2 separate regions of the Homo sapiens genome follow, and region 2 is linked to region 1. Evidence: promoter capture Hi-C in 16 types of primary human blood cells and fetal thymus (Javierre and others, 2016). All regions are on one chromosome and are shown on one strand. Each heading gives the region's core, a stretch centred on a gene start or on the middle of the fragment in contact. The rest is flanking DNA. Distances are from core to core; before and after follow the strand shown. Region 1 holds the start of SLC18A3 (solute carrier family 18 member A3). Region 2 has its middle 25 kb from the start of WASHC2A.

The links. Contacts are between HindIII fragments. The CHiCAGO score rates a contact against its expected background, and 5 or more counts as called.
Region 2: a contact is called between a fragment that was not itself captured here and the fragment with the promoter of SLC18A3 in region 1, in 1 of 17 cell types (erythroblasts). The highest score is 6.5, in erythroblasts.

What each region holds. Positions count from the first base shown.
Region 1 is chr10:49,608,202-49,612,785 of GRCh38, reverse strand. SLC18A3 (solute carrier family 18 member A3) reads right to left here and starts at 2,476. Exons shown (of 1, transcript NM_003055.3): 1 at 66-2,476. The coding sequence starts at 2,045. The coding sequence ends at 447. It also overlaps a transcript of CHAT not described here. RefSeq lists enhancers at 1-607, 608-1,504, 2,549-3,343, 3,344-4,139. The HindIII fragment of the contact is 17,270 bases long and covers 1-4,584 here.
Region 2 is chr10:50,040,431-50,045,640 of GRCh38, reverse strand. It overlaps the pseudogene FAM21EP. Among named protein-coding and RNA genes, the nearest start is that of WASHC2A, 25 kb to the left of the region's middle. The HindIII fragment of the contact is 2,638 bases long and covers 1,154-3,791 here.

The DNA of each region.
Region 1 (4,584 bases), core at 1,227-3,726:
CACCCTCCCCTCTGCTCTGGCCCTGCGCGCCTCCACGCACCCCCCACCAGTAAAGAGACTCGGCCTCCTGGGACAGACACAGTTTATTGATTTGGGCGGAGGCGCCGCGGTGCAGCGGCCCAAGTTTGGCACTGGGAGCAATGGAAGGAAGGACAGACAGATGCAGGCTCTACACAGGGGAGCCGCAGGTGGGGACTCAGGGTCCTCTTCACCTCCGCAAGGAGCGCGATGGCTTCGCTGGCCTCGGTGCTCCAAGCCCCATTGGACAAGAGAGAAAGGGATATGGAACGGGTCACAGGGAGGGGATTTGGGCAGAAGTCAAGGTTGAGGAGTGGCTGGGGTACTCGCTGGAGGAGGTGGGCCCTGAGCCAGAGCTGGCCAGTGGGCTTGCAGAGCAGCCCCCTTGACCCAAGGCGGTTGGGTGGGCTGGAGGAGGAGTGGGGATGCTAGCTGCGGGTGTAGTAGTAGTTGTAGTCGTCCTCGCACGCATCAAAAGGGCCAGGCGGGCTGCGAGGCTCGCCGTCCTGGCCAGACACAGGACGCTCACGCAGGCGCACCGCATCGTACAGACCTTGCGGTGGCTCATCAAGCAGCACATCGCGCTCGGAACGGGAGCGCGTCAGGAGGCCCACGTTGCGGAGCAGCAGCAAGACGGGAGCATAGAGCAGGTTGGCCAGTCCCATGCCAAGGCTGAGCTGCTCAAAGCCCAGCGAGTGCACAATGTGGCCTGCCACTATGGGCCCGAGCGCGTAGGCCACCGAATAGGAGATGTCGGCGATGGCGTAGACGCTGCCATAGACTGAGACATGGCGCACGTCCACCAGGAAGGCGAGCGTGGGCAGCAGTGCTGTGTCGACTAGGGCTATGCCAAAACAGAGGCCGCATAGTGAGACCACTAGCGGCGCGAAGGAGCGGCAGGCGGGCACGATGCACGAGCTGGCGCCGATCACAGCCAGCCCAAGCGCGCCGTACAGCCACTGCAGGTGTGGGTAGCGCGCCGCCAGGCGCACGGTGAGGTAGACGCCCAGCACATGAGGCACGAAGGCCGGCAGCCAGGCCATGCCCATCTCCCACTCGGAAGCCGCCATCGTATGCTTCATCCACGTGGCAATGGTGGGTTCGAGGAAGGCGAGGGGAATGTTACAGGTGGTGAGCGCGCCGGCCACCACGGCAATGTAGGGGTCTAGCATGAGGCGGTGGATGGGAGTGCCCACTGGCAGGTTGGCCCGAGCCCGTGCAGCCGCCGAGAAGGGTTTGGCCACTGCCAGCAGCAACAGCGCGTCAAAGAGCGACACGGCAGCTAGCACCAAGAAGGGCACGCGCTTGCCGGCGAACTCATAGAGGATGCCCCCGAAGGGCGGGGCCACTAGGCTTCCGAAGCTAATGAAGGCCAGCGCCACGCCCAGTGCACGACTGCGCTCCGGCTCCTCCGGGTACTTATCGGCGATCATGGCTATGCCAGACGTGTCGGCGAAGGCTGAGCCCAGGCCCTGCAGGCTGCGCGCCGCGAACAGCGTGGCGTAGTCCTCGGCGAAGGCGAACAGGACTGTAGAGGCGAACATGACGCCCAGGCCGATCAGCAGCGGCACGTCGTAGCTCATGCGGTCGATGAAGGGCCCGCTCAAGGGGTTCACTAGCAGCTGCAGGATAGCCTTGGAAGCAAACAGCACCCCGATCTTCACGTCTTCGCTCTCCGTAGGGTAGCGGGGCCGAAGGGCTGAGCCCGCTGGCCACGCAGCTGTCGGGGACGCCGAGGTGTTGGCCGTGTAGGCGCTGGCATTGGCCGGAGTGGGCAGCGGCAGGGTGGGCTCCCACACCTCGGGAGTCCGGGTGGGGCCCTCGCCGCCCCCGCGCATGTGGGCGATGTAGTCGGGCACTATGGGCACGATGACCATGTACAGCATGTTGTCCAGTAACAGCGCCACGCACACGATAACAAGCACCAGGCGCCTCTGCCGCCGGGGCTCCTGCAGCGCCGCGCCCACAGCCTCCGACAGCTTGGTGGCCGCCGCCCGGGCCTGGCCCGCAGGTTCCGCGGATTCCATGCCCCCACCCCGATGCTCTTCCGAGGACGCCTCCGCCAGGGCCGAGCGCTGGCGTCCCGCAGTGCAGAGGCGAGGGCACGGGACTTCGGGGAGGCTGTCCTGGCCGAGCAGACTCCCCTGTGCCTCAGGTGGCCGCGGAGCTCATGGCCCAGCGTCCCGGGAAAGGAAAGGACTCCGTCCGGCGAGGCGTTGCAGCTACTCTTAGCCGATCCCGGGACCCGCGGCTGCTGGGCTCAGGGGCGGCCGGGAAGTCGGGCGCGCCGAGGGGCCGGGGCCGGAGACTGGGCGCACTTCGCCCGGGGCGCGCCCAGAGCAGCCCCCGCCGCGCTAAGAGGCCGCCCGCGCTGGCCGAGGGACATGCTGTTGCCGCCCGCCCGCTTGCCCGCCCGTTAGCCCCGCCGCTGCGCTCCCCTCCCCTCGCGTCGGCTCTTGCCTCCTCCGCCGCCTCCTCTTTTTTTTTCCCTTCCACTCGGGGCTGTGACGCGGCGAGTCCCAGCCCCCGAGTGGTGCCCGGGCCACTTACGTCGCTCATGCTAATGCGACGTCGGCGGGGCGGGGGCCGGGGGCGGGGCGTGGCCGGGCAGGGGTCCGCTCTCCAGATGCTCCAGGGCTGGAGGCCCAGGAAGGGCTCTCGGTGTGGAAGTCTTGAACCAGCCCCTGGGATGGGCGTTCCGCGCCGGTAGCTGGCCCTCTGCCCCCCGCCCCCTGCCTGCCCCCCGCCCGCGGTTCTAGGACTCGCGGGGTCAGCGCCCGCTCTTCTCCTCTTGGGGAAGGGGGCGCGGCAGCCGGTTCCTCGAGGCCCCTTGGGAGAGGCGGGAGCCAGAGGCTTGCGATCTCCGCTTCAGCCTGGACCTCGGCGCACAGCGAGCAGGAAGCCCCCGAGGTGAGCCGCCGCTGCGTCCATCTGTTCTCGCAGCTGGATTGTGGAGCCGCGTCCGGAGGAGCGCTGGACACGGACACCCCCAACCCTTTCTCCGACTCCGCCCCCTGGCCCCTTGCACACACACTCCCGCCAGGAGGGGAGGGGAAGGCTCAGCAACTGCCTGGCCTGGCTCTGACCCACCGGCCCCTCCGCAGAATTTCTCGGCCGCGAATCGCGGCCGGGAGCTTGTGGGGACTGAGGGCAGAAGTTGCCGCGCCCCAGTCGGGGTCGCGAATATTAGCCTGGCCGCTGCCGCCCTCCCGCACTGCCTGGCCACATTCCCCTTGCCTGGAATCCCCCTTTCTCCTTTAGCGGTCTGGTCCCCCAGCTCCGCCTCTTCTCTCCCCGCCGCCGCACCCCCTCCCCACTCTAACTCCTCCCAGGCACTCTTCGCACCCGACCAAGCCCTCCCTCGGCTCCTGCCAGCCTCCGCCCCCTGTTCTGCACACTCCCCCATCCCTCATTTTCCAGAGCCTCCTCCAAGCCCCGGGTGGGCTCTGGAGTGACTGTGGCTGGGGTCCTCTCTTGGAACTGTAAGAAACCCTTCTTGGGTGCCGCGCCCACTCCCCGGAGAGCGCCCAGCCGCTTCGCTGTCGTCAGGGGCTCCAGGGAGACTCACCTTCCTTCTGAGAGGGCCGCACCCCTTGAGGCGCCCGTGCTCAGCTGACAGGCTGAGCTGCCCAGGCTGTGCGCTGGGCCTGACGCGTCCCCAGAGCGGCGTTGACCCTGGATGGCACATGGAACCCGTGTTCCAGTGGGCGGACTGGCGGGAGAGAGGCTCCAGGGCGGCTGAGGTTGGAGGTGGGGATTGTGTTGTTGAGATTACGGTTTGCGTCTCTCTTCCAGAGTCAGAGGGGAGCCTTCCCATTTTTCTGGCCTCAAAAGTAAAGCAGCATTAGACGCAGATGCTTCTCCCATTGTGCCCCCCACCCCGCAGGAAGTGCCGCGATGCAGTGCAAAGAGTGTGGTCTTTCGAGGCAGACAACCAGGATGGCTCCCAGCTCTGCCACGTACTCATTAGAGTACCTGCAGGGAATTACTTTGCCTCTCTGTCCCTCAGTTAGTTTCTTTGTAAAATTGAATAATAATAGTACCTACTGCTAAGGGGGCCGGGCACACAGTAAGAGCAGTATAAGGACTTGCTATGTTGTTATCGTGTGTAGAATGTGCGGTTTATCCTCATTTTTCACTTGTGGGTCTTGTGAAGAACAGATGAAAGACACAGGGGGCACTTGGCTAGCTGGCTGATCCCTCTGGCTAGGTGGGCATTGTGACTCCAGGCTCTGTCTGGGTTGGTGGAGGACCCGGAGGGCATTGGAATGTCTCCATCTGTCCCTGAGATGGCTGTAGGATGAGGGGATGGGGACCAATGTGTCAGGGTGAGAGGCGGCAGCCTGGCCACCTGTTGCTCAATTCCTTCACCCACCCAGTCACCCTGGGAAAGGAGAAACTCATCCACTGAAGGGCTGCTGCCACCTGCTCTGCAGTGACTGAAGTGCCCTCTGTCTGAGGGAGGAAAAGAGTCCCAATGTGGGCACAGGCCTGGCCCTGGATGACCTTGGGCAAGTCACAGCCCCTCAGTGGGGCCCAGCCTCAGCCTCCGTCTGGTTCAGGTTG
Region 2 (5,210 bases), core at 1,223-3,722, 430 kb before region 1:
ATTTCAGCATTTAGTCACTGCTAAACATTGAGGAGCACTTCTCAAACCTTCATGTTTAGGAAATCACCTGGGCACCCTGTGAAATGCAGGTTCTGACTCAGAAAATAGGGGCGGGGCCTGAAATTCTGCATAATCTGCTGCTGGCTTGTGGACTCCACTTTGATTTGTAAGACTCTAGACTCCAGAGATACAGCACTTATGCAAGTGCTTGGGAGTTCTTTGATTTGAAGGGGTGTGAGCACAGTCGAGTAGAATTTCCCTAAATGCTTTCTAAAGGCCACATTCAGACTTGTGGTAAAAGGATTACTAGCAGTTTTTCATTGTGTCTTGTTCACATGTGTGTTGCATGAGTTTTTACACTTTTTTTTTCAATCTGCTTTAGGATTTTTAGAATTAAAATGTCATTCTTCTCTGGAGTTGGAAGTTTTTGAGTTCTTGGTATTTTTACATTCGGCTTCCTTATAGCCTCTGTAATTAATGTTGATCCCTTGAAATAAACAAGTCGCTTGTCGTAATATAGTGCAGAACCACAGTAGGAAGAGATATCATGGCAGATGTTGGAGGAAGAAATCATGGGAAGCTCTGTGAGGTCAGAGAGCCCAGCTGTCTAGATTTGAGTTCAAAGGAAAGTCTTAGGCATGAGCTTTCTTCAAGACTGATGCACTAAGTTTAATACTTAGTTTAAATACAACTTAGTTTAACAAATATAAGTTTTATTTTACTTCCCATGTTTTATAATCTAAATTGCCATTGGACTTTTTTTTTTTTTTTTTTTTTTTGAGACAGAGTCTCGCTCTGTCCCCCAGGCTGGAGTGCAGTGGCGTGATCTCTGTTCACTGCAAGCTCCGCCTGCTGGGTTCACTCCATTCTCCTGCCTCAGCCTCCCAAATAGCTGTGACTACAGGTGCCTGTCACCGTGCCTGGCTCATTTTTTTGTGTTTTTAGTAGAGATGGGGTTTCACCGTGTTAGCCAGGATGGTCTCAATCTCCTGACCTTGTGATCCACATGCCTCAGCCTCCCAAAGTGCTGGGTTTACAGGCATGAGACACTGCGCCCAGCCTATGGCAATATTTTTAATGGCAGCTTCACATTCTGGATATCTTTATGTTGGGGAAAAAGTTTCAAAGGTAACTGCTCTTCTGTAGCTAAGCTTTTTTAGAGCAGAGGATGGAGCAAATTCTGAGTTACTGAAATTACATATTTAGCGCTATTGCCTTGTTTAGCTTTAACTTCTATTTCATCTTTATAGTTGTCTTTTCAGACGTTTTCAGAAGAGATGAGAGAAATGCTTTGGGAATTGATTTGGAAATCTTTTTGCTGTCATTACTTTTAATAGCTAGATATATGTTTTAATTGTAAAAAATTCTGGAAATACTTTTTTCTCTACCTGCCCCCATTTTTTTTTGTTTTTTTTCTGAGACAAGGTCTGGTTGTGTTGCCCAGGCTGGGGTGCGGTGGCATAATCATACCTTGCTGCACCTTTGAGCTCCAGGACTCCAGTGATCCTCCCACCTTAGCCTCCTGAATGGCTGGGACTACAGATGTGTGCCATCATGCCCAGCTAATTTTTTTTTTAATTTTGTAGAGACAAGGATCTTGCTATGTTGCCCAGGCTGGTCTCAACCTTCTTACCTCAAGTGATTCTCCCACCTTGGCCTCCTGAATTGCTGGGATTACAGGCATGAGCTACCGTGGCCAGCTTTTTTTCTGTTTTGTTTCTTGTTCCCCTTCTGTTTTGTTTTTTTTAGCTGTTTTTCCATCCCATCTTTAAGTCTTCATTGCCCCCTCATTTTCCAACATCATGAGTCCCACAGCATGCTCAGCTAAGCACGACCACACACCATTTCAAGAAGCTGTTCATGGACCCAGCTTTTAGTACTGGCTGGGTCTTTGTCCTGCTGCAGCTTCCATTTGTTCCTCAGCTACCCTCTAGGCATCCAGTCTGGCTTAACCAGATTTCATGGCCTCATTTTGTCCTCTGCTACAGTGATTTCTACTCCTGAGGAGAAGCATAACTATCTTCTAGAGGGAAACATTTTCCTTTTGGTTATCAATCTTAGTTCTTTTAGGATATTGGAAATTACCCCATTGACTGGACCCAGACTTATGGTGGAAGTTCCAGCACAATTAATACTGAACGGGGTTGTGCTTTTTCTTCTGGCATATAATTGAATTATCCATTCTCATTATAGGTGAAGGACTTGCAAATCTGTTTGTTATCTTCTACCCTCCCCCAGCCTATTATTTTCAGGGTCTCACTATGGAAGAACACTGTGGTGAAGGAAACAATCCAGATTCCTTTGGCAGTCATAGTCACTCATGTCTTTATTTCTGTCATGTGCATTTTGCAGTCCTGACACCTGACTTCTGTTGCTAGAGCCGCAACTATGTAGGTAGGAGTACTGTTGGCTTCGGGGATACACACACTGGTGACCCTATAGGACAGTCTTATTTGATATAGCATAAGTATGTTTTTAAGAATTCATGTTATCCAAAATTATAAAAGCAGTTGTTTGAATGAGTGAAAGAAAGGGGGTTAAGTTTAGAGAGCTCCATACAAAGTCATATATAAGCAATGCAGCTTTTAAATTTAGCTTTTATTTAAGAGCAATGACCCTTTACCACTATCACCAGCAGTATTATTAGCCTGGTACCTTGTATTACTCTAATACCCATCATTTTGAAATGTGGTGCAACAACACTCAAAAGAGCTATGCTACAAGAAACAACTTTCCTTTCTGTAATGCCCTCCCTTTAGGATCACTAGAAGTTTGAACAATGCAATTCAGATTCCCAAATTAATTATCTTTCCTATTAATATTATAAAAACTCATAGCAGATTCCTGTATGTGCATGTATGTTATGAGTTGGATAAACATTGATGGACTTCATTTGGAGTGAATCAGAATGGGATTCCTGTGAGAAGCCAACATCCCTCTAAACAAACTTTTGGAGCATGATATGGCTTGGATGTTTTGTCCCCTCCAAATCTCATGTTGAAATCTGACCGCCAGTATCGGAAGTGGGCCTAGTGGGAGGTGTTTGGGTCATGGGGGTGGATCCTCATGAATGTCTTGGTGCTGCCCTTGTGGTAATGAATGAGTTCTCACTCTGATTTCACATGAGATCTGGATTAAAAGAACCTGGGGGCTAGGCATGGTGGCTCATGCCTGTAATCTCAGCACTTTGGGAGGCTGAGGCTGGCAGATCACAATTTCAGGAGATGGAGACCATCCTGGCCAACATCTTGAAACCCTATCTCTACTAAAAATACAAAAATTAGCCAGGTGTGGTGGCACGTATCTGTAGTCCCAGCTACTCAGGAGGCTGAGGCAGGAGAATCGCTTGAACCCAGGAGGCAGATGTTGCAGTGAGCTGAGATCGCGCCACTGCACTCCAGCCTGGGTGACAGAGCAAGACTCTGTCTTAAACAAACAAATAAACACAACCTGGCACCTCTTTCTTCTCTCTCTCTTGTTCTCTCACCATGTAACATGCTGGCTCCTTTCCTCTTGCCATGATTGTAAACTTCCTGAGGCCCTCACCAGAAGCAGATACCAGCATTATACTCCTTGTACACTCTACGGAACTGTGAGCCAAAATAAAACTCTTTTCTTTATAAATTGCCCAGTCTCAGGTATTCCTTTATAGCAATATGAACAGGCTAACACAGAGGATAACCAAATATTTATTAATGTCTAAAACTTGGAGAATACCTTACCTATAGCACAGGTTTGTTCTGAGGATCAATTGAAAGACTAAAATATCTATTCTTTCCTTGAACAAAGCTTTAATGAGTACCAATATGTGCAAAAGACTGTGCTAGGTGGTAGAGATCAGATGTGCTCCCTTCAGTTTAGTTAAAAATGAAATTGTTAGGGGCTGGACACAGTGGCTCATGCCTGTAATCCCAGCACTTTGGGAGGCCAAGGTGGGCAGATCACGAGGTCAGGAATTTGATACTATTCTGGTTAACATGGTGAAACCCCATCTCTACTAAAAATATAAAAAATTAGCCACGCGTGGTGGCAGGCGCCTGTAATCCCAGCTACTCGGGAGGCTGAGGCAGGAGAATGGCATGAACCTGGGAGGCGGAGCTTGCAGTGAGTCAAGATCATGCCACTGCACTCCAGCCTGGGTGACAGAGAGAGACTCCGTCTCAATAAATAAAGAAATAATAAAATAAAGAAATTGTTATGGGTGCAATATATGATGTAGGTAGTAGTGTAAAGGGGGTAGGTATAAAAGCTTTGTGGAATAGTTGATATTGGAGCTGAATGTTGAAAGGTGATTAGGTGCTTGTCAGGTAACCATGTGTGCACAAGATAGTAAGTAGAGCAGAGCAGGAGCAACAATATAGAAGCTGATGTGTTCTGAAGCTGCAGATGCAGATGATTAGAGGATAGAAGTACCAGAGATGTTGCAAGATGAGGTGAGGTTGTAGATGAGTAAAATGGGGCCGGAATGTGAGATGCATAATCTTGGGAGCATTTCTAAGGAGTCTGAATTATATTCTATAGACAGGGAGAAGTCATTATAGGACCTTGAGGCAAGAAATAACATGATCAGTTCTACATTTTCAAAAGATAACTGTGCTCCACATTATGTGTCATTAGGGAAATACAAATTAAAACAGCAGTGACGTACTATTACATGACTGTTACAATGGCTGAAATCCAAAACACTGACAACACCAAAGCTGGGGAAGATGGGGAGCAACAGGAACTCTCATTCACTGCCAGTGGGAATACAAAATGGTACTTTGGAGGATTGTTTGGCAACTTCTTACATATTCTTACTGTATGATCCAGCAATTATGCTCCTTGGAATTTGCCCAAGTGAGTAGAAAACATGTTCACACAAAAACCTGCATACAGATGTGTATGGAAGCTTTTTTCACAATTGCCAAAACTTGGAAGCAACCAAGATGTCCTTCAGTAGATGAATGTATTAATAAACTCTGTACTATACCCAGACAATGGACTGTTATTCAGCACCAAAAAGAAATGAGCTATATCAACCCATGAAAAGACATGGAAGAATCTTAAGTGTGTGTTACTAAGTGAAAGAAGCCAATCTGAAAAGGCCGTATACTATAAAATCCCGAATTATGTCTGGAAAAGGTAAAAGTATGGAGATGGTAAAAAGTGTAGTGTTTGCCAGGATCTGAGGGGAGAGAGGAATGAATAGGCAAAGCACAGAGGATTTG